Linked DNA regions of Homo sapiens: regions 1, 2, 3, 4 and 5 are each linked to region 6. The links are contacts of gene promoters, found by promoter capture Hi-C in human tissues and cell types (Jung and others, 2019). All regions are on one chromosome and are shown on one strand. Each heading gives the region's core, a stretch centred on a gene start or on the middle of the fragment in contact. The rest is flanking DNA. Distances are from core to core; before and after follow the strand shown.

Evidence for each region. Contacts are between HindIII fragments. The study calls those that stand out against the background at their distance.
Region 1: a contact is called between a fragment that was not itself captured here and the fragment with the promoter of TMEM132B in region 6, in 2 of the 25 tissues and cell types used here (dorsolateral prefrontal cortex and liver).
Region 2: a fragment that was not itself captured here is called in contact with the fragment with the promoter of TMEM132B in region 6 in 2 of the 25 tissues and cell types used here (H1 embryonic stem cells and dorsolateral prefrontal cortex).
Region 3: a fragment that was not itself captured here is called in contact with the fragment with the promoter of TMEM132B in region 6 in 1 of the 25 tissues and cell types used here (dorsolateral prefrontal cortex).
Region 4: a contact is called between a fragment that was not itself captured here and the fragment with the promoter of TMEM132B in region 6, in 1 of the 25 tissues and cell types used here (H1 embryonic stem cells).
Region 5: a fragment that was not itself captured here is called in contact with the fragment with the promoter of TMEM132B in region 6 in 2 of the 25 tissues and cell types used here (H1 embryonic stem cells and dorsolateral prefrontal cortex).

What each region holds. Positions count from the first base shown.
Region 1 is chr12:125,446,153-125,450,858 of GRCh38, reverse strand. The region is part of intron 3 of TMEM132B (transmembrane protein 132B); the gene reads right to left. Among named protein-coding and RNA genes, the nearest start is that of TMEM132B, 260 kb to the right of the region's middle. The HindIII fragment of the contact is 7,222 bases long and covers 1-4,706 here.
Region 2 is chr12:125,521,105-125,525,534 of GRCh38, reverse strand. All of the region lies in intron 4 of TMEM132B (transmembrane protein 132B), which reads right to left. Among named protein-coding and RNA genes, the nearest start is that of TMEM132B, 340 kb to the right of the region's middle. The HindIII fragment of the contact is 5,080 bases long and covers 530-4,430 here.
Region 3 is chr12:125,539,481-125,544,567 of GRCh38, reverse strand. The region is part of intron 4 of TMEM132B (transmembrane protein 132B); the gene reads right to left. Among named protein-coding and RNA genes, the nearest start is that of TMEM132B, 360 kb to the right of the region's middle. The HindIII fragment of the contact is 4,820 bases long and covers 1-4,536 here.
Region 4 is chr12:125,684,787-125,689,473 of GRCh38, reverse strand. No RefSeq gene overlaps it. Among named protein-coding and RNA genes, the nearest start is that of LINC00939, 300 kb to the left of the region's middle. The HindIII fragment of the contact is 7,013 bases long and covers 1-4,687 here.
Region 5 is chr12:125,496,775-125,501,490 of GRCh38, reverse strand. All of the region lies in intron 3 of TMEM132B (transmembrane protein 132B), which reads right to left. Among named protein-coding and RNA genes, the nearest start is that of TMEM132B, 310 kb to the right of the region's middle. The HindIII fragment of the contact is 5,731 bases long and covers 1-4,504 here.
Region 6 is chr12:125,182,688-125,187,848 of GRCh38, reverse strand. It overlaps TMEM132B (transmembrane protein 132B), which reads right to left and starts at 1,463. Exons shown (of 9, transcript NM_001366854.1): 1 at 983-1,463. The coding sequence starts at 1,049. RefSeq lists a silencer at 1,471-1,680 and an enhancer at 1,729-2,262. The HindIII fragment of the contact is 11,061 bases long and covers 1-4,168 here.

The sequences.
Region 1 (4,706 bases), core at 1,703-4,202, 260 kb before region 6:
TCAGAGAATCAAACCTGGGGGCAATGGGTGTCCATGTGCCCCTCATTGGTGATATTAATTTCAGCTACATAGTCAAGGTATTGCTCAGTTTCACCAACGTAAAATTACTATTTTTTCCCCTTATAATTAATAAGCGATCTGTTAGGAGACATTTTGAGACCATGTAAATAATGTGCCAATCATCAAAATTTTCCACTAGATTAGCATCTGCCAATAACTTGTGCCTGACACAATCTTTATTTATGCTGATGTTAAAATTCTGGGGTTTTTTCAATGCCAGCATTCCCTCCATATTTAATTGGGCCTCAGTATCTTACTGTACACAAGAGAAAGCCAAAAAGTCACTCTCCTATCACGATTTATTTATGTGCTTATTTATTTTTGTTTTATTATCTACACGGGTTTGTGAATTCCTATATTTTCAATAGTTTAGATTCATTACTGTGCCTATTTTGGTGCTCAAATTCTTCCATATTTAACCAGTGGAAACCTCTTCAAACTTTGTTCTATGTAATTAAGACATGCCATCATCATTTTTTTTATCTTCCTAATTTTTTGGCATAACTAACAAGACACAACAGGTTCACCTTGTATCTACTCTGACCAGAACTGAAGTCAGCCATTTCTCCAAGGTATCACTTCTTCTCTACTTTTAAAAGGGAAGAATACAAAAGAATATAAAATGGTAAAATTTGACTGCAAGTTATCCTCATAGCTACTGAAATGCAATTGATTCTTAGCCCTTCTACTGAACAGAGCTAAAAATATACATGTACATATAACATGTACAAATCCACATACACATACAGTTAAACATACATGCATACCCATATATACAGGTACAAATGTGAATACACAGTTTTGAAATCATAAGTCATACCACTACCTCCAGTTACAATTCAATGCCACAAGACTCTTTCTACATTTAATATTCAAATGTCATTTCTTTGGTTGGCTCCCAACTACACTAAAATGTTGACTCATTTGCTTACTCTTGAAAACTTCTAAAATTATTTCAGAATTGTTACACCCCTACCAATGCATAAAACATATTTACTTACAAGGACACCAGGATTTTTGAATTAAGGCCCACTCTAACCTACTGATACTTTAATCTTTGACTTCTAGTGCCTGGAACTGTGAGAAGTAAATTTCTATTGTTTAAGCAAAAAAAAAACCCCACAATTTGATACACTTCCATGTCATACCATACTCCCCAAGATACTAGAGAAAGATGAGCAAATTAAACAGAAAGGAGAAAACCATAAAGATAAAAGTAAAATCAATGAAATGGAAAATAGACAATAGAGAAAAGCAATAAAATGAAAAACTAATTCTTGGGAAACATTAAAAAAATTGATAAATCTCCAGCCAGACTAGTCAAGAATAAAACAGAAAATAGAAAAGTTATGAATATCAGGAATAAAATAGTATTACAGATCCTGCAAACATTAAAAGGGCAATAAGAGAATGTTATAAGCAATTTCATGCAAATAAATTAATTCAGCAAATTCCTTGAAAGACAAATACCAAAGCTCACACCAGACAAAATAGATAAACTGACCAGATATTTCCTCAAAGATATATGAATGGGCCAGGCGCGGTGGCTCACGCCTGTAATCCCAGCACTTTGGGAGGCCGAGGCAGGCAGATCACCAGGTCAGGGGATCAAGACCATCCTGGCTAACACAGTGAAACCCCATCTCAACTAAAAATACAAAAAATTTAGCCGGGCATGATGGTGGGCGCCTGTAGTCCCAGCTACTCAGGAGGCTGAGGCAGAAGAATGGTGTGAGCCCAGGAGGCAGAGCTTGCAGTGAGCCGAGACTGCGCCACTGCACTCCAGCCTGGGGCACAAAGCGAGACTCCATCTCAAAAAAAAAAAAAAAAAAAAGATATATGAATGCCAAATAAGCACAATAAAAGATGCTCAAAATTTTAGTTATTATGGAAATGTAAATAAAATCACAGTAAGATACCCCTATATACTTACTAGGATGGCTAAAATTGAAGACTGACAATATCAAATGTTGACAAGAATGAGGAGCAACTGAAACTCTCATACATTACTGTAGGAAGCATAAAATCATACAATCACTTTGAAAAACAATTTGGGAGTTTCTTATAAAATTAAATATATACTTACCATATGACTCAGAATTCCCATTCCTGAGTATTTACCCAAATATTTGTATGTGAATGTTCATAGCAGCCTTATTCATAATAGCTTGCAACTGGAAACAAACTAAATGTCAATGAACAGGTGAATAGACAATAAATTATATCTATACAATGGAATACTACTGGGATGGGGAAGTTGAATACTGATATACACAGCATCATGGATAAACCTTAAAGCATTCTTCTGAGCAAAAGATGCCAGACACATCTTTTCATCTTTATTAAACTGTAGGAAAGATCCATTCAATCTATAAAAATGAAAAGCAGGTCTGTGGTTGCCTGGGAAGAGGAGTAGGAATGTCTGATTGGGATAAAGCACAAAGAATACTTAAGATCAGACAGTATGGCACTATTCTGCATCTAGTTGATGGTGATTAGTTGGGTGAATAAATTTGTCAAAACTCATCAAAATGAATTTTTTTTTTTTTGAGACAGAGTTTTGCTCTTGTTGCCCAGGCTGGAGTGCAATGGTTGCAACCTTCACCTCCTGGGTTCAAGCAATTCTCCTGTCTCAGCCTCCTAAGTAGCTGGGATTACAGGAACCCACCATCATGCCCAGCTAATTTTTGTATTTTTAGTAGAGATGGGGTTTCACCTTTTACCAGGCTGGTCTCAAACTCCTGACCTCAGGTGACCCACATGCCTTGGCCTTCCAAAGTGCTGGGATTACAGGTGTGAGCCACCGCAAGTGGCCAAAATGTACATTTTAAATGGATATGTTGTATTGTATCTAAATTATACCTCAAAATATTTTGATTCTTAAAAAGGCAGCCACAGAAAGAAGAAATATTACCATGAAAGTAAAAATAGACTGACAGCAACTTCTCAACAGAGACAATGTAAGCCAGAAGACAATATAATGATATATTCAAAGTGCTGAGAGAAAATAACTGCCAACTTAGATTTCTACTGCCAGGGAAAATATTATTCCAGAATAAAAATGAAATAAAGTCATTTTCAGACAAATAAAAACTGACACCATTTACCTGTAGCAGAGACTACTAAATAGAATACCTATAAAGGCAGAAGAAAAGTGAACCCAGATGATTAGAGATGTAGGAAGAAAGAAAGAGGCAAAAAAGAAGCAAATACATGTGTAATATATGTGAGTGTTGACTATTAAAATAATACTTATGTCTTATCATTTATAGAAAAAGAATATTAACCTACACAACAATAATGGCGTATACAGAGCATGATAAATGGAATTAACATATTATAAGGAATTGTCTGGATATGTGGTAAAGTTATCAAATAATATTAGATTTTCATAAATAAAAGTGACGAATTCTCTAGGGTAGCTACTAAGGCAATAAAATGGTATATAACTTTGAAGCTAATGAGAATTTTTTAATTATTTAATTATTTCATCCTTCCATTTAATTCAAAAAAAAACAGAAATAAATACAGAATAGAATAGGAGTAAACAAGGGAAAATACATAGTAAGACCACAGATTAAAACACATATATTAGTCTTCACATTAAGTGTAAATAAACAACATATGCCAATTAACAGACAAAGGCTGACAGACTGGCAAAAATATAATTAAAACACAAGAGACATATCCAAAATATCTGAAACATAGGTTGGAATTAAAAGTTTGAAAAAATATATATGCCACATAAATAGTAATCAAAAGAAAACTGGTATAAAATAGCAATATGCAGTAGATTTTAAGACAAAAAGCACAGATATAGATAAAGAGGGTCACTTCAAAGCAACAAAAGATCAAATTAATCAAGGATTCATTGAGTCATGGTAACTCATTAGTTCTTAAGTAGAGTAAAAGCAAATCCAAAATGCAATACTCTGGTCCTTTCATGGTTGCTAGCCAGCATGTGATGGTAAGTAGTTAAATGACTTTGTGCCTTGGTTTTTATTCGGCTGCAATACCAGTCTTGGTGGCTTCCTGAGGTTGTTAAGAATGCCAAATGAGGTACTTCATTATGTGTGAAAGTGAATATGACTTGAACTGGAGAGGACAAAGAAACATTTATGGAGTGCCTACTATGTAGGAGAAACTGCCCTAAAAGCTTTATTATTCTTCATCTCTTGTAGTCTTCCCAGCAACCCTAAAATACATTTATTTTTATTTGCATCTATACAAATGAGAAAAAAGGAGTCTAGAAGAGACTAAAGGTCTTCCCCAAAATAAGCAAATTACAGAGCCAGGATTCAAATCCAACTTTTTTTTCTACTCTAAAGTTATGCCTAATCCTGGTTACTTCTTAATGAACATTAAGTTAGGTCTTCTAACTAGATATTCTGTAGGCCACTTTATTATATTACTTTCTAAAGCTCTATTTTAAGTTCACATCCTTAATATATAAATAGCTCATACAAATCAATAAGAAAATATTAAGATGCCAAAGGTAATAATAACTAGCATTCATTGAGCACCTACTATTTGCAGTCTGTGATCCAAGTGCATTGTATGAGTCACCTCACAACAGTTCTGTGAGGCCAAGCATCAGCTGGAGTCCAGTCAGTAATTTGAACAAGAAAAAAAAATTTAAAACAAAT
Region 2 (4,430 bases), core at 1,820-4,319, 340 kb before region 6:
ATCTGGTCTCTTTGCTTCCAAGATGGTGCCTTGTTGCTGCGTCTTCCAGGGAGGACGAAACACCATGTCCTCGCATGGCGGAAGGGACAGGCACAGGGGCCTAAGCCAGCTTCCTCCAACCCTTTTATAAGGAAGCCATCCATTTGTGAGGGCAGAGCCCTCATGGCTAATCACTTTCCAAAAGGCCTCACCTGGTAACACCACCACAAGGGGGATTGAGTTTCCTCGTGAATTTTGGAGAGGACACATTCAAACCACAACATACAGAACTGCAATGAATACTTGTGGATTCATACATTCTTTGTGATCCGTAATAAATGATCCAAACCAATGAATAAAGGGTAACTCCAGAACAAAGATCAGACATCCTAGCCTAGTATGCAAGCCTACTAGAGTGTTCTGCTGCCCCCTTCTCTGTTCCCCTTATCACCTCCCCTCAGCCCAAACACCAGCCCCACCAAGCCACCTGCAGCCCTCTAAGCGCCCATGCTCTTGCTCCTACTCATTACACACATCATTCCATCTGCCTAGAACACCTTCCTTCTTTCCACTTGGCTAATGTCCATTCACCTTCAAGAATGAGATAGCACATTCCTTCCTCCCCTTTCTTCCCTGACCCTCTCAAACAGTAGGAGCTCTCCATGAGCTCCCAGACCCTCTGTGATTCTGTCTCTCTCTCTTCACCCATATTGTGCCCACCCTAAACCCTTTGGCTGTGTCTGACTCAGCAAATCAGCCTCCTTTCCTCCTCCTTTTCTCCAAGAGGAGAACCTACCATCATCCATCCTGAGGTTGAACTTCTGTTTTACCTTCTCCCAAAGTTTGACAACTACACCTATAGATGGCTAGATAACACAATGACAATGATGAAAATTATAACAGCTCAACATTATTGAGTGCATGCAGTATGCCAGGCCAATGGGCAAACACTTTACCTTAGTATATCATTTAATCCTCACAAAACTATCAGGCAGGGAATGTGATTTTTACAGTTTACAGATAAATAATTGGAGCTTCAGAAAGATTGAGTGACTTGCCCAATATCATGAAGCTAGTAACTGGAGTTCAAATTTCAAACTAGGCAGGTTGACCCAATAGCCCTCACTCTTGACCAAAATATCTCACTGCCACCTACCTCGAAGGTAATCATAATTGAAATTTTCCCAGGCAAATCAATAGGATAACGAAACTGGCTGGATAGAGAGGATTGTTAATCCCACACGCCAGCTGAATCTGATCCAGTGCCCTATCTGGGACATTTTCCCTTTACATACATGACTTTTATATTTGCTTTGATAGTTTAAGCATGTTCATATTTTTTATGGCTCAGTTTATCCATCTGACACCACTGTGAAGTAGACAGAAGAGGTACTCTTGCTTGTAAACTCACACATGAGCTACTAAAGCAAAGGGAGGTTAGGTGACCAGCCTGAGGCTACGTGGAGAATGAGAGGCCAGCTGGGCTTTGACTTCGGGTCTCCTCCTCCCAGTCCCAGGATTAGAGGACAGTGATGTGAAATTGTGACCAGAGCCCACCCAGCCCCTGTCCTGTGGCTGTCCACATCCCCCCTGGGGATGAGGATGCCTGTGAAAACTAAGAGACTCATGTTCCTTGGTGCTCTGGAAGCTCTGCTCTGGGGTCCTCTGGAAGAGCCAAGCACAATGAAAGTGCATCCCCGATGAGGAGAGAGTAGTATCCCTAGGATCTTGGAGCTGTCAGAGGTGCTAGAGTGACATGGAGGCCAAGAGAGCTCCCAAGGCAGCAGCCTGGGAGGCATTAAGCTGTAAGCTGGTGCAGGCAGCAGCCTGGGGCTACAACACAATGACAGAGCAGATCATGCGAGAAGAGATGGAGAGCCCTGAGCACCCAGTTTGAGGAAGCTCCAACTAGAGAGAGCTGGAATCCTGCATAAGCAAGTGTGGTAGGAAAATAACAGCCCCCTCCAGAGATGTCCACGTCCTAATCCCAGAACCTGTGAATATGTTACTTGGCATGGCCAAAGGAATCTCTGCAAGTGTGATGAAGTTAGGGATCTTGAGATGGGGAGATTATCCTGAATTATCTCGGTGGGCCCCATGTCATCACAAGGGTCCTTAAAAGGGAAGAGAAAGCAGGAGACTCAGAGAAGGTGATACAATGATGGAAGCAGAGATGAGAGTCACGTGGACCCACGAGCCAAGGAAAGCTGATGGCCTCTAGAAGCTGGAAACGGTACAGAATAAATTCTCCCCTAGAGCTTCCAGAAGGAACCAGCCCTCCTGACAACTTTGCTTTAGCCCAGGGAACCTACTTAAGACTTCTGACCTCCAGAACTCTAAGAGAATAAATCTGTAGGTTTTTAAAGTCATTGAGTTTATGGTAATTTGTTAGCGCAGCACAGGAAAATTAATAATATGGCAAGCAAGAGCTCTCTAGCCAATGGACTCAGGCTCTGATGGTAGGCATAACCATTTGTTCATTTGCTGAGCAAATACTATATATTCGGCACCATGCTGAAAAAACATCCAGCAAGCAAAACAAGCATGGCTCCTCTCATCAGGGAGCTTGAAATCCAGTGTGGAAGACCTGCAGTATGCTTGTTATCGATTCATGGCCTCTCAGCTCCAAGTTCACCCCTCATTACCTGCTCTGTGAAAATAGATCTGAGCCCTATTTTAATATTTTTGCTTTTCCAATGGGCACGATATTAGGCTTTGTCAGTAGAACATACTGGAGAGACAGTTTGGGAGGAAAGGGTTGACTTTCTGATGCTGAGGCCCTCTCTCTGCAGCTCCTGCCATGCACAGACCTTCTCCAGCATTGGTGGCTTCCTCGGTGTCCCACTCCTACAGTTCATGGTGGCCAGCAGCACCTCACAGCTGGCAGCTTTCCCCAAGGTCCACCTTCAGTAGTTTGGTAGCAAGTGCATCACTTGTGAACAGCTGTCCCTAGCACTACAGAGGACAGATTCCCATCAAGCTCTACTCGAGTGCTGCATCAGCAACTTGTCTGCCATTCAGTAAGCTGTGACCATAACCTCTCAAGAAATGTTGCTTTGGGGGGATAGGCAGGGAAACCTCTTCTTTCAGCATTATAGTTCAGCCCTCAGGCTAGCAGCTGCTCCCTGTATCTGCCATTCCTATACTCTTTAGAGTTCTCTTCACTTCTAACTAACCAATCCCTCACTATCCCAGTCCTCTGTGATAGTTAACAATTCTCTATTTTAAACTTTCCGTGTTCACATTCTTTCTTATGGCTGGACCTAGACTGAGACAGACAGGACACAAACACTCATAAATAAGCATGGATCACAGACTGTGATGGGATCTGCACAAGACAAGGACAAATAAGTGAAAATAGAAAGGGGGAGACTAATTTAGCCAGAGTAACCAGGAGAAGCCTCTCCACGAGTTGACCTTCAAATGAAAAGTGACAAGAAATCAGCCATAATGGAGCATTCTGGGCCGAGGGAGCCAAAAGGAGACCTGAGAGGAACGAGACTTGGCATGGCCACGTTCTGAATATGCAAGCTTCTGAGGGACAGGCTGGATTTGGTTCACAGGAGTCACATCATGCAATAAAACAAGCAAGATAATGGCACTGGCTGGAGCCCGTCACCCTCAAATCCAGTTCCTGGCCCTCCTCTGATCAGTTCTGGATCATAGCAGTGTTGAGCCCTGAAGATGCTGCTTCCTAAGCTTATGCCTCAGCCAGCAGAATGAGATTAAGTGAAAGACTTTGCAGGATCTGGCAGGAGGAGGGAGGCAGAAGCCAGGTAATTCCTCACCCCGCTCCCAGCCCTGCCTCAGGTAGCATCCTTCGCAACAGTTGAATCTCTCCCACACTCCAGCCCTAACCAGGCTGCTCAAATGTGATTCTAGCTGCAGCAGTGACCCCCAGGTCCTGGGCTCTGGTAATAACCCCTCCACCCTCACCCTCTGGCCTGGGGGTAGTAGCAGATTCCCACTCTTACTAGGGTGCCCAGCTCTCTTCTGTTCTACATCTGCTTCTCATCTGTTTCATTCCCTGTGTACTTAAGTCCTTGCATTTAAAGCTGCTCTGTTCTAACTACAGAGGGATTTCTGCTTCACATCAGACTCTGAAAATAGTGAGCCCATTTTTTGTACATTATGTAGCTATGTACCCTAGTGCCCTTACTTCATGCAGGGGCAGTCCAGCATTAATTGCCACTGATCTTTCCATGACTTGCTTTGGAATAAGGAAAAGGAGAAGGGGAAGGGGAAGAGGAAGGAGGAGAAGAAGGAGAAGGAGAAAGAAGGAGAAGGAGAATGAGAAAGAGAAGGAGGGGAAGTGAAGGAAGAGGAAGAGAAGGAGGAAGGAGAAGGTGGAAGTAGAGGAGGTGGCAGCAGTGGTAGCTTCCAAACCCACAGTGAATGCAGTGCTACAGATAAAGCATAGAGCAAAGTGGTAAGGACATTGAGTAGAGATT
Region 3 (5,087 bases), core at 877-3,376, 360 kb before region 6:
TACTGATATCAGCACCTTCATTAGTATCTCTTGGAGGAAGCCTCCTTTTCTAGACCCTAAGTGAATGTGGTACATGGAGAGTTGGGAGCTGAACCCATCCCACAGTTCCATGGATGAAGAGCCAGACCCAGGCCACCTAATAAACCTCTTTCATCTCCCTGGACGCAGTGATTATTCCAAGTTAAAATATGAAATTTAAATCTGTGACTATACTTGCAAGTTTTTTTTAAGTTCCGGGGTACATGGGCAGGATGTGCAGGTTTGTTACATAGGTAAATGTGTGTCATGGTGGTTTGTTGCACCTATCAACCCATCACCTTAAGCCTGGCATGCATTAGGTATTTTTCCTGATGCTCTCCCTACCCACCACCCTCCTGCAACAGGGCCCAGTGTCTGTTGTTCCCCTCCATGTGTTCTCACTGTTCAACTCCCACCTATGAGTGAGAACATGCAGTGTTTGGTTTTCTGTTTCTGTGTTAGTTTGCCGAGGATAATAGCTTCCAGCTTCATCCATGTCCCTGCAAGGAACATGATCTTGTTCCTTTTTATGGCTGTATAGTATTCCATGGTGTTATATGTACACAGTTTTTTTAATCCAGTCTATCATTGATGGGCATTTGGGTTGATTCCATGTCTTTGCTATTGCAAATAGTGCTGCAGTGAACATAAGCATGCATGTATCTTTATAATAGAATGATTTATATTCCTTTGGGTATATACCCAGTAATGGGATTGCTGGATCAAATGGTATTTCTGGTTCTAACCTTTGAGAAATCACCACACTGTCTTCTACAATGGTTGAACTAATTGACATTCCCACAAACAGTGTAAAAGCTTTCCTATTTCTCCGCAACCTCGCCAGCATCTGATGTTTATAATCTTCTTAATAATCGCCATTCTAACTGGTGTGAGACAAAAACAAGCAACGGAAAAGGATTCCCTATTTAATAAATGGTGCTGGGAGAACTGGCTACCCATATGCAGAAGGTATTTAAAAAGCACTACAGTCATCCCTAGGTATCTGCATAAGATTGGCTCCAGGATCCAGAACTTGAAGGAAGCTCAAATCTCTTATATAAAATGATACAGTATTTGCATATACCTATTCATATCCTGCTGTGTAGTTTAAATAATCTCTAGACTACTTATAAGACCTAAAACGATGTAAATTTTATGTAAATAGTTGTTAGACAACATTGGTTTTTTAAATTTGTATTGTTTATTGTTGTATTGTTGTTTATGGTTGTATTATTTTTTATTGTTAAGTTTTCTAATATTTTCCATTCATGGTTGGTTGAATCCACAAATGCAGAACCTGGAGATAGGGAGGGATGACTGCATTATCATATAACTGAATTTTTAAGCTATAAGTATGATAGGGGTCACCACATTGACAGAGACTGTCTGGACTTCTGAGAAAAGTAGAGCCTAGAAATGAATAAAGACATATATGGGTCCCTGGATTCAGCTGTTTCTAAAACCCCAAGTATCCCTGGACTGTTAGACTTTCTGTTACATGCAACTGAAATAAGTGACTGAATAAGGGTCATATTCTGGGATCACCTTCCTAGATCTGAAATATGCATTTCTCATTTCCTGAGAAAGCAAACAGCATCATCAGAATGGAGGCCATCACACAGTCCAACAGCTGCCACATTGCTGACGCTCGTCTAGCACCCTGTATAATAAGATACCAAAATAATTAAAAGCCTGCTCTCCAATATACTCAAAAGAACAGAAAGCAAGGCTTCGAAGAGATATTTGAACACCCATGTTCACAGCAGTGTTATTCATAGAAGCTATAACATGGCAGCAACCCAAGTGTCCATCAACAGATGAATGAATGGATAAGCAAGATGTGGTCTACTCACATATAATGGAATAGTATTCAATCTTCAAAAGGAAGGAAATTCTGACACATGCTACATGGATGAGCCTTGAGGACAACATGCTATGCAAAGTAAGCCAGCCACAAAATAATAAATACTCTATGAATCTACCTACATGAGGAAAATCACAGAGGCAGAAAGCACCATGGTGGGTGCCTGGGACTGAAAGGAAAGAGGAATAGGGAGTTAGTGTTGAATGGGTACACAGTTTGAGTTTTGTAAGATGAAAACAGTCCTGGAGATGGATGGTAGTGATGGCTGCATAACAGTATGAATATATTTAATAACACTGAACTGTACACTTGAAAATGGTGACGATAGTAAGTTTTGTGATATTTTACCACAGTAAAAACTTCAGGAAAAAACAAATCTACCATCTAAAGACATTATTTTCCTCCAACAATCCTGACCTCTACCCTAGCAGACTCTTGAAGAAAGACATTGTTGAGCAGCAACATGGACGCAAGCTGTTTTCTCTCTGGGTTAGAGGTACGCATTAATGTACAGGTCAAAGAGCAAATCAAATTCATGCTAACTTTTCTAACTCATACATGATTTTATGCTTCCCAGAGTGGCTTTGCACCACCTTTGGTGAGGTCCACTTTGAGGAAGCAGGTGTTCACTTCTTTTTTTTTTTTTTTTTTTTTTTTTTTGAGACGGGGGTTTTGCTCTGTCGCCCAGGCTGAAGTGTAGTGGTGCGATCTCAGCTCACTGCAAGCTCCGCCTACCGGGTTCACGCCATTCTCCTGCCTCAGCCTCCCAAGTAGCTGGGACTACAGGTGCCCGCCACCACGCCCGGCTAATTTTTTATATATTTTTTTTTAGTAGAGACGGGGTTTCACCGTGTTAGCCAGGATGGTCTCGATCTCCTGACCTCGTGATCCATCAGCCTCGGCCTCCCAAAGTGCTGGGATTACAGGCGTGAAGGCGTTCACTTCTTTAAAACACCAGGTCTCGGTGGACTCACAGGGTTGCATCTGTCTATGTCTCCTCCCTTGATTTGAGGAAGTCATTTAGGCAGGATAGCACTATGGAAGCTGAGGAATGCTGAACACTCTCACCTTTTAGGGTGAGATTTATAAAGCACTTTGGCATATTAAAGGCTCTTAAGAAGTCCTGTGGTAATGAAATCTACCTACCTTTATTTAATTAAATTTCTTCCATATTTATTTGACACTCCAACCTCTCACTTTTCAAGGCCCATGCAGTCACATCCTGTGTGCCAAGAAATACATGAGAGAGAAGGCTGTTTTAGTGAACATCTGTCCAGTGATGCAAAACCCCAAGAGGCTGTATCAGAAGAGACAGTGTCAGGACAGACAGAATCAGGGGTGCCAGGGTCAAGCCCTAGCTCCCGCATAAGAGGCTGCCTGGCTCCTTCTGAAACTCAAGTTTCCTGCTCAATAACAAATATTTGTTGAGGACTCTCTATATGTGTCAGCTGCTGTTCCAGGTGCGAAAGATATAGCAAAATGTGTCGTGACAATGATTATTATGAAGAAAAACAAAGCAAGAAAACTGAAGCAGCATAAAAGGAGTTGGTCGTTCTCTCCAGGGTGATCAGGGAAGGCCGCTCTTACCAGGTGATATTTGAGCAGAAACCAGATTGAACTGAAAGCATGAGTCTTGTAGACATCTGGAGGAAGAGAAGGCCAGGCAGAGGGAACAGGAAGTACAAAGGCCCTAAAGCAAGACCATGTATGGCACATCTGAGAAACAGCAACAAGGCCAATATGGCTGGAGGGGAGATACCAAGGAAACAGAGAGTGATTAGGAGGTGAAGTCAGAAAGGTGGCCAGGGGCCAGATCTGGTGAGCTCTACTAGGTCATGATAAGGATTTCAGACGTTTTTCTAAGTGAGAGAAGATGACAGTGGAACAATGGATCAGAGGTCAGACATGATAGGTCTGGCTGCTGCGTGGAGAGCAGACTGTAATGAGCCAGGGTAGAACTAGGAGAGATTACACCACAAACCAGGCAAGAGATGCTGGTGGACTTGAGTAGTCACTGTAGAGGTCCTGAAAAGTCTGGATTAGGGACTGGATAGCCACAGTGGCTATAACAGTATCAGATAAAGTAGATTCTATAGCACATAATATTACCATGGACAAAGAAGTTAGTCTCATAGTGATAGAAGGTTCAATTAATCAATGTAATATAACCATCTTAAATTTTATATATCTAATAACAGAGCTTCAAAATGGATAGAGCAAAATCTGATAGAACTACAACAAAAAACAGACAAATCTCCAACAATAGTAGGATATGTCAAAACCCCCTCTCAATAATTGATATCAAAAAGTGGGAAAAGAATCAGCAAGGACTTAGCAGACTTGAACAAAACAATCAACCACCTTGACCAACTGACATTTATAGAATAATCCACTCAACAACAGCAGAATACATTTCTCAGTGTGCACAGAGCATTTATCAAGAGAAATTATCTCTACACCATAAAGCTAGTCTTAATAAATATAAAAGGAATTAAGTCATATAAAGTATGTTATCAGCCACAGTGGGATAAAAGTTAGAAATCAGTAATAGAAAGATATCTGGAAAATGCCCCCAAACATTGGAAAATCTGTAACACATTTCTAAAACCTATGGACCAAAGAAAAAAATCAAAAGCAAAATTAGAGAATATTGTGAACTGAATGAAAAATGAAAATACAACTTATGAGAACTTAGGGGAAAATTTATAGCACTAAATGTCTATAGGGGAGAAAAGAAAGGTCTACATCAGTGACTGCTTTCACCTTAATATATTAAAAAAGAGAAAATTAAAACCAAAGTAAGCAGACAAAAAGAAATCACAAATATGACAGCAAAAGCCAATGAAATATGAAAATATAATGCAAAATCTATGAAATCAAAAGTTGATTATTTGAGATCATTATTAAAATTGATAAAACTCTAGCCAGACTGATCAGGAACAAAAGAAAGAAGACAAAGAATCAATGCCAGAATAAGAAGGGTGACATCACTAGAGAGTCTAGACATATCAAAAGCATAATAGGGGAATATTATGAATGACTGCATGTCAAAGTTCACTCAAAATGACAGCCAACCATTCATCAAAGAATTGTGAAGATGAACAAGGGCCTGCCCTCACGGAGCTTACATTCCCAGGAAGAGAGAGCTAATAAGTTGCCAAACACATGTGTAACCAGAGGATTTTGGAGAGTGCTCATTCTGCGA
Region 4 (4,687 bases), core at 813-3,312, 500 kb before region 6:
TGCCCAGGCTACTCTCAAACTCCTGGGCTCAAGCAATCCTCTCGCCTCAGCTTCCCAGAGCTCTGGGATTACAGATGTGAGCACCACCACATCCAGCCTTTTTTTGTTGTTTTTAGGAGACGAGTCTCTCTGCATTGCCCAGGCTGAAGCACGCTAGCTATTCACAGGCAGAATCACAGCTATCAGCTCACTGCATCCTTGAGCTCCTGGGTTCAAGTGATCCTCTCAGCTCAGCCTCCCAAGTAGCTGGGATTACAGATACATACCACCGCGCCAGGCTATGGAGGCCCCAACCGTGCAGTTGATCTCAAGGCCACCTCTGCTGTTCATGGTTTCCTTGCCAATGTCCATTCCAGATTCTCCCACCAACCCTCCCCTCCCCTGGTCCTGGTGGCTCACATGCTAGTAGGACCAAACCTCCCTCCCTGGGGCCCTCAAGCCCTGGTGGCCATGCCCTCCAGAGGCTGGAGTGCCGCCCATGTCCACTCACAGTCACAATGGGGCAAGAGGCACCCATGGGGGTTACCTGAGCTCCACGCTCATTCCTCCTTCCCTTCATGTGTGACCATAGTTTTAGGTGCCCTGGATAAATGGCCACATGACTCCCTTGCTGCTGGTCCTCACATGCAGGAGTCCAGGAGCCCAGGCAGTGGCCATAGCTTGCACTTTAACAAGACCCTTTCTCTGTCCCCCAGAAAGCAGGCACCCCACATTCAGCCATAACCTCCAGCACACAGAGCCCAGAGTTGTGACTATGTCAACACAAACTCCCCCTGAGGACCTGGGGACTATGGGAAGTGGGGCCACTCCTGCTTCTGCACCTTGAGTCCTGGTCCTGTGTGGTCTTCCTGTTGGGGACACAGCACCACATAGAGGTCTGATTCTCCCTAGGTTGGGGGGCAGCATCCCCTTCTCACAGAAGCTGTTATGGAGCTGGTGTTTCAGCAGCATGTTTCCACGCCACTCCCCTGCACTGTCAGGCAGGCAGCTCCGTAAGGTCCAGCACATGAGATGACCAACGTGCATCATGCTCCAGCCCACACCAGCACCTCCTTCCTGTGCAGTGGCTCCCCTGATGCTATGCTGCGTGGGATTCAACGCCTGTGCATTAGTCACCCCAGAACCCCCTGGGGAGAGGTGCTGGCTGGGACCTTGCAGCCAAGAGCGGGAAACCCCTTCCAGCACAGGTGCACGTTTCAGTGGGAACAAGCTCCTGGCCCTTCCAGTACAGAAGGGCCCCAGGAAGCCTGGCTGGCCTCGAGAGATGGGCTGGTCTCTGAGGCAGTCAGTGATGTGCCCTCTGAGGTCCCTCTCCTAGAGGGAGCCCACCCCACAGAGTGCAGAGAGCTGACAGCCTCTAGCTGTGGGCACCTCAGGCTCGGCCTCAGCATCTGAGCCAAGGACATGCTTTTCCTGGGATGCTCCCAGCCAGTGAGCACCGCGGGGGTACAACAGCTCCACATTGCTGGTGTGAGGCTCCTCCATGGCCATCCTTGCATGGGAGCTCCCCCGTGGGTGGGCTGAGGCCTTCTCCAAGCTGCCCTATGATCTGGGCTCCTTCTTTGCTAAACCCTTTCCTTCCTCCTCATTTTCACAGGTGCCAGACATGCATCATCGTCCGAGGGCTCCCCTTGCCTTCCTCTGCACCCTCTCTCCCCTTCCCTGAGTGGGCATCTCCTGTACTTCCAGCTCCACCCTGGTGTCTGCTTCCCAGAGACCCTGCACTGGCACAGCCTCCACGAGGACATTGCCATCACAGGGCACAGCATTGCTCTTGCAGCTGGCAGGCTGGACACTCAGAGGTGGCTGCTGCTGAACCAGGCTTGAGCAGTGAAGTCCACACTGCTGGGGCTGTGTCTCCTCAGTCTCTGCTGCCATGGCCCCTCTGGGCATGTGATCATTGCTCCAGTTTGGGTTGGCCAATGACAGATCAGCTAACGTCAATGGGCTGGGCCTCCTTGTCTACTCATTGTTGAATGCCTTGCCTGTGATGGATGTGTCTGGGTGAGTGCTAACACATTAACATTCAACGGAAGGATTTTCACTTTGTGTCCAATCTCAGGTGATCATCCAGTGTTTCATCCCCAGAACTCCTTGTCCTCAATCTCTCAGATCCATGATTAGCCCACCAGGCCACCCATTACTGCCCATGAGATCATATAAATTCTCACTTCAAGCCACATCCCCTTCCACACAAAGTGGTTGTACAGGGCTCTATTCAAGGTTCTGCCCAGTGTAAAGATCTTTCCTCTCCACTGCCTTTCAAGGCCACGCCTGGGTATGGCTATGATACAGCAGCTGACCATTTTGGTCTCACATCCACATGTTGGTGGGTTCATCTTTAGACTAAGCTCCAGTGTGTTCCCCCTCCTCCAGGTGTCAGAGACCCTCAATATGGCCACAGGTATGTACTGAGGGATGGTGGGTTGCAACAGTTGTGGGCAACATGGGGTCATCCGGCCACAGGTGTACACTGAGGGATGATGGGTTCAACAGTGGTGGGTAACCTGGGGCCTGGATTCTGCCCATGCAGCTTCCTCGTGCCCTCTGATCCTGCTCAGGCTCAGGGCTGGACTTACCATTTCCGTCTTCCAGTGGACCATACTCAGCTGACCTAACGTTATGACTTGGAGGATCCTAAAGAATCCAGCTCATGAAAGACGGTTCCAGAGGCACAATCACTGGTCACTCAGTACCTCACCCACATCAAGGTTTCCATTTCTGCCAGGGCCCAACGGCATGCCAGAGATGCTCCTCAAAAGACATTAAATTCTCTGCTGCAAGCTTTTTTCCATGCTATGGTACCCTCTCAGCAGGGTTGCGAGGATGAACTGGGACACTGGGTGTGATGTTGCATCACGAAGCTAAATACAGACGAGGAAGGCTTGTATGAAGGGGGTCCCTCCCAGCAGAACTCAGAATACAGCATTTGGACACATCTTGGCAGATCACAGTGATGGCTGGAAAAACATCCTCCAGGAACATACCTGGATCAATTGTCTGTGATTTTTAACAGCTGGGGATCTGAAGGGGAAATGCACGTAAAGGGAGGGCTTGGGGAGAAGAGAAAGCAGCCAACAGGGAGATGGACAAACTTCCAGCACCTTCCCCAGAAGGGAAATTTGCAGGGGCTGGCTCACCATTCCACAGCTCCTTTCACCTCCCTCTCCACTTCTGCATCCACTTTAATCCATGATTTATGAATGGAATTAATAGAAACCAATCAGGCATGGCTATGCCTACAGCGCTTTGTTCAACAACACATGTTTCCCATAGTAATTATGTTAGAATAATCACAACACAGAAAAAAAAAATGCCTGGTCATCAGTACTGAATCACGAGTGCTAACAAGACTGATGGTTTTACCAATAAAACTGCCAGCAAAGGAAGCTGGGAGAAAAGACACACAGGCCTAGGGCTGGCCCTGCTTGTCGGCATGTTTTGCAATCATCATTCCAACTTTCAGTGGCTCCATTTCCTCTACTGAGAAAAAGAGGAATTTCTCTAGTTCACTGTTTCAGTTGGTTCTGCAAGACACAGATGTCCTGGGGGAACTGGCCTGGGAAAGAGGGGAGGCATTTCTCATTGTAAACAGTCCACCATTCCCTGAAGTTATTGGCTGTATAATAGAGTTTGTTCGTTTCTTTGTCTGATGCTGTCCTGATCCACTTTTGAGGCTTCTGGCAAAAGGCAGGGGCAGTTCCCCTTCTTCAGTATCTGATTAAGTCCATGTCCCCCACCACTTCCCTTATGGGTTTCCACACTCCAAGCCACTATGCATCTCCCTTAGTGCTCTAGGGCTGGGTATCAAACAACTAGAGACAGCTCTGAGCCCAAGAGCCCAAGAAAGTCCTCAAATTGCCAGTCCACAGGGAGCCCTGGAAACTTAACCAAGCCACTGCACTCGCCACACATTATGTGCCCTGCAACCTTCACTGCCCATGATGCAGCCCTCACTGCCCATGACGCAGCCTTCCCTGACCATGACGCAGCCTTCCCTGACCATGACGCAGCCTTTCCTGACCATGACGCAGCCTTCCCTGATCATGACGCAGCCTTCCCTGACCATGACGCAGCCTTCACTGCCCATGCTGCAGCCTTCCCTGACCATGACACAGCCCTCACTGCCCGTGACGCAGCCCTCACTGCCCATGACACAGCCTTCCCTGACCATGACGCAGCCCTCACTGCCCATGACGCAGCCTTCCCTGACCATGATGCAGCCTTCACCCACAACGCAGCCGTCTGCATAGTCCCGCCTGGAAGTTCCCTCTCTTTTGGAACTGTAAGCAACAGAGTTCTGCCTTTTATCTTTCTGTCACTGTGTTCTGTCTCACCAAAAACAGGACCTTTGAATCTTATAAAACAACTGCCAGAACTTGGGCTCTAGAAGAGGTGGATCTGCGCCCGACCAGTCTTTCGTTGCTCCCCTACTGTTTAGCTGTTCTGTTCCTCACTGCAATTCCTAGTTTTCTCTTGTATCACTCATGCAGCATTGGAACAGCCTAGTGAGTACTCCTGACTCAGACATCCCTGGGCTCAGGTTCTTACCCTCCAATGCTTGTACCTGCATTCTGTGCTCCTCCCTCCCCTCCTCCAAGAAGGGAGTTAAGCATTGCATCTCCTTCAAAGGCTGCTATGAGAGAAAGTCCAGACCACCAAGGACACTCACTAAGACAGACACCGC
Region 5 (4,716 bases), core at 390-2,889, 310 kb before region 6:
GGCTTAATATCTAGGTGATGGGTTGATACATGCAGCAAACCACCATGGCACATGTTTACCTATGTAACAAACCCACACATTCTGCACATGTACCTTGGAACTTAAAATTAAAATTAAAATATATATGGGATACCCAGTTAATTTTGAATTTCAAGTAAACGACATAATTTTTAATATAAGTATTTCCCAAATATTGTATGGAACAGAGAACAGTATTGCATAGAACATACATATACTAAAATATTATTCCTCATTTATCTGAAATTCATATTTACGTGGGTATCTTGTATTTTATCTGGCAATTCTCCACAAAATGGAAAGTCTCTTTTCTCTCAAAGATAGGAAGCTGTTTGTGAACCTTCCCATCCAATTACCAAAAGACAAGTTGAAGGATTTCTCAACCTTACAAGAGACTGGATTCCTAACTTTTCTGAACTGGCTCTCCCTTTATTCGATCTGACAAAAGCTGACATAAAACCCTTGTTCTGAACTGTCTTCACCTGTCTTCTGTTTCTTTGAGGACTTCCTTCAAAACCTTCCTATCCTTAGGCCCTCCCAATTACTATACGACTCTCTCTCTACTTGTACATCAAAGATAGGGACAAGCATTGGAGATCCTAACTCAATAGCACAAGGGAGATCAGAGACCCACCATTTATTAGTCTCTCGCTTGACCCCATAGAACAAAAATCTACTCTCCTCATTTGCTGCAACCAAGTTGACCTAAGCCTGCTACCTGGAGTTAGGACATCCACGTAACCTCACAGCCCCTCAAGCCATTCAGACTTTACTCTTCCCTGATAGTACCCAGTATTTTTCTATTTCTAGATTGACGTCCTACAAAATTCTTCCCCTTCCATTTCACATGTTTTTATCCATTCTTATGACATTCCAAATAAACCTCTCCATGCCTTACCCTCTGCAAGAGGAACCTCAGATTATCATGTCCTCAAATGGGAATGTTTCTTGCCTCCCTCTAGCTTCCTTGAAACACCTTGAAACTAGTGGTCCTCAAATGGCACCAACTTTGTCCCCCAGGGAACAGTTAGCAATGTCTGCAAACATTTTCAGTTGTCACCCCAGGGTTAGGGGAGGTCCTACTAGCAGCATCCAGTGGGTAGAAGCCAGGAGGCTGCTGCACTTCCTACAATGCCCAGAGATTTGTAGAGATTCCCCACCAGAGATTCCCCCAGCCTGAAATGCCAATTGTGTCAAAAGCTGAGACATTCTGCTTAGATAATTCAAACTTACAAGTGTTTGTAAGTGAGTCCTGTTTGAGAACCAAAGAGGCTCTCTATTGCAGGATCTGGCCAGCAGCCTGCAATGCAACGGGGCTCTCTCTTTGTTCCCAGGTGGACTGGCAGGTTGAGAAATAATAGACACACACAAGATAGTGAAAGCTGGGTCCCGGGGGATCACCGCCTTCTGGTCCCATGGTGCCAACAATGCACTGGATATACCAGCATTTATTATTAAGTTTAGTGAGGGTGGGGGTAGGTTAGTGAGGGATTTAGGGTCATTTGATTATGAGGTGAGATGGTCACATAGGGATGAAGTAATTCTTTAACATAACATTTGTATGCAGAAGTACAGTATACAAAGATAAGAATTTACAATATAGTGTGTGCGTCAGTAATTTCTAACAGAGCCTTAAAACAGAAACACAATCTTTCCATAACCTATGATTAGTAAAATATTATCAGCAGTAACAGTTGCAGCAAAAGCTTGTTACAAACAATCCACAGAAACAGGACGTGAAGCTAGACAACCGGTTAGACCAGAAATTCTCAGAAGGGAGTATGCCTTAACCCTAAAGAGGCCTAGAAGAGCCGTGGCAAGATGAGGGCGTTTATAGCCCTATCTTATCCATATGGACAGGCACCCCCCATGCGTCCACTTATAGGCTCTCCATAAGGGTCGCATTCCATTCCCAGAGCTATGAACATCTGCTTTTCTGGGATAGGAATCTTGGTGATGTGAAACCTCCCTGACTGCATGTCCATTCATAGGCTCTCTGCAGGGGGAAGCACATCACGCGCTGTTGGCTCATTCTGGCAGTCCAACCTGGCATTGTCTTTACACAATCCTGCATGCAATTTTGTATTTACAATAATCAGGAGCATTTCATCTTTTATTCCATAGCAATAGTCTCAGGGGTTCTCCCTATAGCTCTCAACTCAATCAGTCTTGCTCAAATCCAATCTCCTCTGAAAGGCCGAAATACTAAATTTGGTCAACAAATTATCAAAATTTTAGAATTTCCTAGGGCCTGTCAATTAGCTAGAGATATAAGATCAAATGTCTAGAGATACAAGATCAAATGTCTACACAGACAGCAGATATGCTTTGGGGATGGTCTGTGATTTTGGTAAGCTTTAGGAGCTTCTTATTTGCAGCTGGCATTTTAATTAAACATGATAACCACACCAAAGGCCTAGTAGAGGCCTTGCTTCTCCCAGATGAATTGGCTCAATTAATGTTGTGGGACTTACTCAAAAGCAATCTCAAAAGCAAAGGACAATCCTATAGAGATTATTATTATTTTGCTAACTGAGCATTCCCAAGCTTATCACCAACAGGTCCAGGTCACTTTCCCCAAAGATAACCCACAGGAAACCTGCATGCCCTTTGGGCAGGAGACCTGATTTACTAGAAATGAAAGCAATGGAAGACTGTGCCAGAAGCTCTTAGGAAGTCACCTCCAGAGACACCGTTAACCAGTATCCTCTGTAAGGACATTAGAACAAGCCCCATGGGACTCTAGTAACCCAAAGTAAATAAATGTGTTCCAAGGACCCCGCAGCCTGGAGTGTAAGCTGGTCTTTCCAACTAGAATCAGGGGGTATCCTCTTTACCTGTCTCCTGAGTTATGTTTTCTGAGTCCCTCCACCAGGGGACCAGCCTGGCTGGTTTATAAAACACAGGCTAACAAGACGTGGCACATGGACTGCAATGTCCTATTATGTAATCACAGACATTTCTCTGCTAGGAAGTCAGATATTGTCTCTGAAACATGCTAACAACATGGTTAGATGTCTCCAGCCAACAAAAGCTATTTGCTTAACTGACTGATCTGCAAGTGAAGGGGGCAGCAAAGGATGCTGTGTGTGATTTTCTCCACACCCTCACCCACCATCCACATACACACAGTGATTTATTGCACATATTCAGTGCAATTCCTACTAATGCTAAACAGAAAAAACACCTAGCCATCAACTCAGCATTCCCATGTAAATTAAATCATCCTTTACTGTTCTTCTCATTATCCTCCCAGCCTTCTGACCAGGACATAGAAATATACACCCTCAGAGAACCAGAGGATGCCTCTAGTTTAAAACACACTGGCTTGTAGGGTCATGTGGATCAATTTTGGCCAGTGAGTGGTAAATAAAGCAGCGTGTGTCAGGTCTGGACTGATCATTTAATTGCTAGTGGGAGAATTTCAGGGCTCTCTTCCCCTTTGGCGTGGTGAAGGATGACAGTCAGGATGGTGGTTGCTTTGTCTAAACTCACAACAACGAGCAGAGTCCTTTGCCAACTCATGATCAAGCATGGCTAAGATGTAAACGGGTCTCCTGTTCACCACTGCACCTGTCAGTCATGCCTGCCTCAGGCATGTTCCTGCTAGCCACCGGCTGCTCAACCCCAACTCCTGGCCACCTGCTGAGCGGGAACTCTTACTTGAAATGATTACCTAAAGCTTCATCAATAAATGAGTTTTTCAGACAAAGTCAAACTCCTAGCTTGATCAATAACATCTCAGAAATCAATTAAAGTAATAATGCAGCTCAATTTATGCTTAGGTAAAGAGAGGAAGAAACCCCTGGTTCAGAAGAAGAGGGCCCGAATGACTTCACAAAGAAAGAGATACAGATAAAAACAGTCTGGACAGTCCACAGTCAACACTTACCGAGGGTTCAAAAGGAACAATAAGTATCTGTGGCTCAAGACTCTACTCAGTCACCACCCAACTCACTTTTCAACAGTCCACAACTTTTATAAATCTCCTGGAATAAAGTATGGAACCTTGGAAGCCTGTAAGGATAAAATGATGTAGACAGGAAAGCCCCCATACCTTGTCAAGACCACACTAAATGAAATCGGCCTGAAATATTCCTCAAACTGCCAACCCCACACCCAGCACAGGCCATGAAAGGAAAATCCCAGATTGCTATAACATTGAATGGCATCCTTCAGTTGAAAATAATTGAGAGCATCACTCTCCAACTTGGGCAGAACATCCAAGCTGAGATTTGAAGTGCTTCTTACCTAGACACTTAAAGTACTGCTTGGCAAGTGCTTCCACGTAGGTCAACAGCAGGGCAATGAGGAAGGAAAGTGCTTCAGTCTCCTTGGAGGACAGCAGATTTAGGGCAGCCCAGGCTGGGTAATAGGGGGACCCCACCTCTCCTGGAGCTTTGAAATAAAGGTAACCATCCTTTAAAGAGGAAGCCGGTAAGACTCTAAATTAATCAGTGCATTTCATCAACCATGTTAGAGACCTACAAGACTGCCTAAATGCATGGTTTAAAAATGTGGGCAACAGCAAGTCCCATCAAGCTAATGAGGGAGGCATGACTAGAATATGCTTGTTATGAAAAGCACTGAAACCTAATCAATGATACCGTTCACAGCCTAAAGAAAGTCTGCACTAACAGAGAGTGGTCCTCGCAAGGCCTACAGAAAGAAGTGGGGGTAGAGGAAACTGAACACTTG
Region 6 (5,161 bases), core at 214-2,713:
AAGGCTGCTCGTGACTGTTCCCGGGGTTCATCTGAGCCTTTAGGATTTTCTCCACTGCTTGCATGGGGTGGGGGGAGGGGAGGAATTGTCATTTTAGGATACGCTTTCTATAGAACCAACATGTAGCCACACCAAGGTGGGTAGAAAGCTTTCCAAACTCCAGCGAAGACAGACAATACCTGACTATTTTGCTTTTCCCACTCACTAGGATTGGGCGACAGCTGAGCTGGTTCAGCAGGGAGTCCAGCTCCCCGGTGCCCAGGCAATGGCTCTGGACAGCACCGCGTTCCAGGCTCCCCGGCGCGTCCTGGACTGCTTGGCCGCGGCTACCCTCTCCCGCCCGCCTTGGGGTCAGGGCGCTGGAGTAGACCGCGTTTGCAGGAGGCGCGCAGCGGGCTGCTCTTTGGCCAAGAGGAGGCCATTTGGCGAGGGTGGGTAGCTTGGGGAGGGCAGTGTGAAAGCAGGGGAGGGCCGCGGGGCGTGGGGAGGGGCTGCGGACAAGCCAGACAGCGCCGGCCGAGACATCTCCGGGGCCCGCAGGTGTCCCGGGAACGCACCACTGTGCGACCGCGGGCAGCAAGACACTGGAGAAGGGCTGCGTCGACGCCCCCGCCCAGCAAAACCCCTGGAGGAACTGGGACCTGGGGGGGATTTGGCCCAAGGCAGGGCGGGGAGGGGGCTCGATTCCTGCAGTCGCGTCCCCACCCGCCTCGAGAGGCTGAGTGCCCCGGTCTGTGGCCCCCGTGCGTCCCGAAAGGATCCGCAAGGAAGCTAAGGGTTTGGGGGAGAAGGCAGGCGGGCTCTCCCCAGGCGCTAGGCAAAGGGGAACGCGCCGGGGGCTCCTGGGTTCCCAGGGTCTCCCCAGGTCTGTCCAAGTCCGGGAGATGCGCGCTGCCAGGGACTTGAGAAGGAGGTAGCCGCCCGTTCACCCAACTTTGTGCGCCTCGGCCGGGGTCGGGGATGGGGTCCGGGGACGCGTTACCTGGGCACTGGAGCGCAGTCAGCGCCAGCAGGAGCCCGAGCGGCGGCGCCCGGCCCGGGGGCGGCATGGTCCTCGGCGCGCGGTGGGTGCGGCGCGGGGCTGCTCCTCTCGCGCGCCCGGCCCGGCCCGCGGCTCCCGGAGCAGCCCCCGGCGGCTACGCCCGGGCGCCGGGCATGGCTCGCTCCCAGCGCGCCGCTCCTCCCCAGACGCATGCGCCGGCGCTGGCGGCGCTTCCTCGGCTGCGCCTCTGCGCGCTCTCCTGGGCTCGGCCGTGCGTGGCTGGGGAGCTGGGGCGGCCGAGGCTCAGCGCCCCGCGCCCTGGCCGGCTGCCCCGCAGTTGGCCCGAGTTGCGCGGCCCCCGCCGCCGCCGCCGCCGCGGCTCCTGCGCCCCAGCGCCCGTCCCATCCCGGTCGCGCCGCCGCCGCCGCCGCCGCCTCTGCCATCGCCATCTGCCGGCCGCCCCTCGAGCCAGCGAGAGAGTGAGCGAGCGAGCGAGCGCCGGGGGGAGGAGGAGGAGGAGGAGGAGTAGGAGGAGGAGGAGGAGGAGAGGAGCGGAGGGCGGGGCCGCGGCCGGGGGAGGGGCCGCCCGGGAGCCGGGGCACAGGCGGCAGCCCGGCCAGTAGGCGGCGGGACGCGCCACTGCTCGGCGGTTCGGGGGAGGGCGCCCGGCCGGGAGGCTCCGGGAGCCCGCCGGGGGTCGCGGGCGCTCGCGGGTACAGGGGCTGCGGGAGGGGTGCGCAATGCAGAGAGGGGATGCCCAGCTAGATCCGGCGTCTTGGGGCGCAGCGGTAGGAGTTGCCAAGGTCGAGGGGTGAGGAGGCCAGCGGAGGGTCACCGGGATGGGGCAGCGACCTCTGGAGAGGTGGTGTCTGCCGGGGCCAGAGACTGCAAGACTGAGCGCGGACAGGAGGTCCCGGGTTAAATGTGGCACAGCTAGGGAGTGCCTGTGGGAGAGGGGAGAGGAGAGAGGGGAGGGCCTCCGGGAGGCCGAGGCTGTGTGCAGAGCCTCTGCACGGCACCGGGATGGGGGCTAGGGGTGCGCAGGCTGGGTGCGGTGACCTGAAACACAGCGAAGGCGGCCTGGGGATGGCCACCCGGGTGAGGCAGGGTCCCTTATTTACCCAGGCTAGAGGATGCGCCTTCCCATTTCGCGCAGGCCCTAGGAGCACGCGGAGGCAGCCAGGAGTTCTCCTGGGAAGGGCAGATTCCCTGGCGGTCCCGGGAATGAGTTCCCAGCGCAGGGTCAGGCAGTGACGGAGCGGAGGTGTTGCGCAGGGCCGGGTACTAGGTGGTCGAATTCTTCCATCCAGGGGCAGGGACGCAGCCAGAGTGCGGAGGGAGGTCACAGGTCACACGGAGCCCCAGTACCTATTATCCCAGAAACCACTGATCCTCCTGGGCGCCCCACCCCCAACCAGGGCAAAGCCACGGGGGGCTAAGCCGAATGAATGAGTCATGCTGGGAGCATGTGGGGGAGCCTCCAGCAGCGCTCAGATGCCTTCAAGCTTCCCCACCACGCTGGGAGGACAGGGGATATGGGGGGTTGCCCACCTGGGAGGGTGGCTTGGAGTCCTGGCTCCGCCCCAGCCCCCACCACACCAGCCACTTGCTCTGCCATCTCAGTTTTCCATGAAAAAGTGGGTCAAACTCTTTGAAAATGGTCAATAAGGCAGCGTGGGGTGATGAAAAGACAGATTTGGGGAAGGCTCTGGAGTCATGGAGTCTTGGCTGAGAATCCCAGCTCTGCCGCTCCTTAGCTGTGCAAGCTGGGGCGAGTCCCTTATTCCTCCCTGAGCCTCAGTTTTCTCATCTGAGAGATGGAAGGCATTGCACATCACCTGGTGTCCCCAATAACACATACAAAGCCCCTGACCTAGGAAGTCGGAACTCATTTAAAGGAGTCAGTGTCAACATTATCATTCTCATCATCATGGCCATTATTATGATAGATCTGATTTTCCTCTGCGGGCCCAGAGCTCACATCAGAAGGACAATCCTCCCCACTCCCGGCTGCCAAGAGGGGATGGGGGACAGGGCACCTGCTTGATTAGTACAGACAAGCTCATTAGCAGAGGCAGCACTCAGTTCTTCCTAGATAAAAGAAGGAAGAAAGCCAGGGGCAGGTGGTGAGTCTCCAGCCCAGGTTAATTAGGAGACGTAAAGGGATTTTCCCGTGGCTGTTAATCGGCTTCCTTTACAAGGGGCCCATGCCCAGGCCAAGCCCCCTTTGGGCTCCCTGGCAAGGCCTGCAATGTGTGGAGAGCCATACAACAGGCTGGACGACGGGATTGGGGGTCTCCTCGGGCTTAGGGTGGCCTTGCGAGGGGCCCATCTGTCCCCTTTCTGTGACCCTTTCCCCAGATAAGAGGATGATCCTGGAGACGTGGTCAGGACTCTCTTAGGGTCCTCTGTGCCCGGCTGCCCCCAACACCTCTTTCCTGTTCACTTGTTCATAAGCATCTGCAGAGCTGAGCACCTACTGTGTGCCGGCCTCTGCAGGGGATGGTGAAGCAGAAATGAATGGACGACAGCAGGGGAGAGCCACAGCAGGAGTGACCGCGGGGTGCTGGTGCCAAGGTGAACCGTGTGTTTGACCAGGAAGCAGGTCAGTGAGGCTGGGAGACTGTGGCCAAAGATAAAAGTCATTTTCTGGCAGGGTAAGGGGTCATTCTGTGGCTTTAGTGGCGGTGCTTGGAGAGGGTTGTGAATCAGTCCAGCAAGTCCCCAAGCCAGTGGTCACACAGTCCCAGGTGTGATGGCAGATGGCAGTTGCCTTCCCCCCAACCCCACACTCAGGACTACCTGGTCATACTCCAAGAAAGCACCTTTCAGTGGGGAAGGGCACTTCCCCATTAAAATATGCTGATGGTGGTTGAGCCAGACGCTGAAGAGAGGAATCTCCTTTTGAGGGTAGCTTTTCCATGCCCCAGCTGTGTGACTCTGGACAAGCCCCTAATCCTCTCTGAGCTCATACGTGGGGTAGGGATGAGAATTCCAGCCTGGCTCAGCCTGTCTTGTGGTTGGATGAGGATTTCTGCATATTAACCATGCCCCTAAGCCTGTATCTCTAAAGGGGGTGTTTCTGGAGGAAATAAGCAGGGGAAAAAAGCCTCCCTGGATTCTGAAGGGCGGGGGGGAATCTGAGAGGCTGGCGGCAGTAACGAGGAGACCCCAGGGCTGAGCGGAATTCTCCTCTCACTCCTACCTAGACTCTCGCCCCCAGCCTGCTGGCCTCATAGCCTGGGCAGGACCGTAAGAATTACACAGCCTACAATCTCCCCCTAAGTATAGATGGGATACTGAGTCCAGGAATTGTCCTTCTCCTGGATCTGTAAGTGTGGGGAGGCCGACTCGACTAACAGCCAGCCTCGAGCCCCAGCATAGCCATGCAAGGCTTCCTCAGGCCGCACCACCCCCTGCACAGCAAGAGACTGCCTCCAGCACGGATTGCTCCCGGTCCGTCCCCGCACCCCAGTTCTGCTGCAGCTCAGCCCACGCGCCCGCCGGGCTACCGGCGAAGAGCAACATTGCCATCTCGTGGCTGAAACTGGAACTGCAGGTCTGGAGGGCGCTGCAGAAGGAAGGTCAGGGTGGGGGTGCGGGTAGGGGTGAGATGGAGGCGAATAGGCAGAGAGGTTTCCCCACCTCAGCCAACTGGCAGCGGCAATAACAGACCCCTTTGCCCTTGAACGCCAACACGCAGGCAGCTGCTGCCGTGGTGACCACCCGTTGAAATTCTTTGCAAAGCCTGGGACTGTTTGTTGTCCATTGCACACATCGATGTTTCTGGCATGTTCAGGGAACACAGAATTGACTTAGATTGCATTTGCACCACAGGTGAGTGGTAGGGGAAAGGGGCCTCTCAAAATAGAAGCCAAGCTCACTTATACAGGTAATCAAGGATTTACTAAGAATAAAGAATTTCAAGAAATCAGTTACTTGCACACCTGGACATATGGACCCATGATGGAAGGAAGGAGCCTCTTTATGGCAACTTGCAGTCATCCATATCACTCTCTGTCCCCTCCCCTGCTTTGTTCTTCTTCGTAACAGTGGCTACCACCCAGCATCATATGTACAGAGAGTGGCCCAATCAGTCCTGGTTATATTAATGTATGAATGAAAGGAGCTCAGGGCTGGACAGTACAGTAAGCACTGAGCCCTGGGATGTGAGCCCAT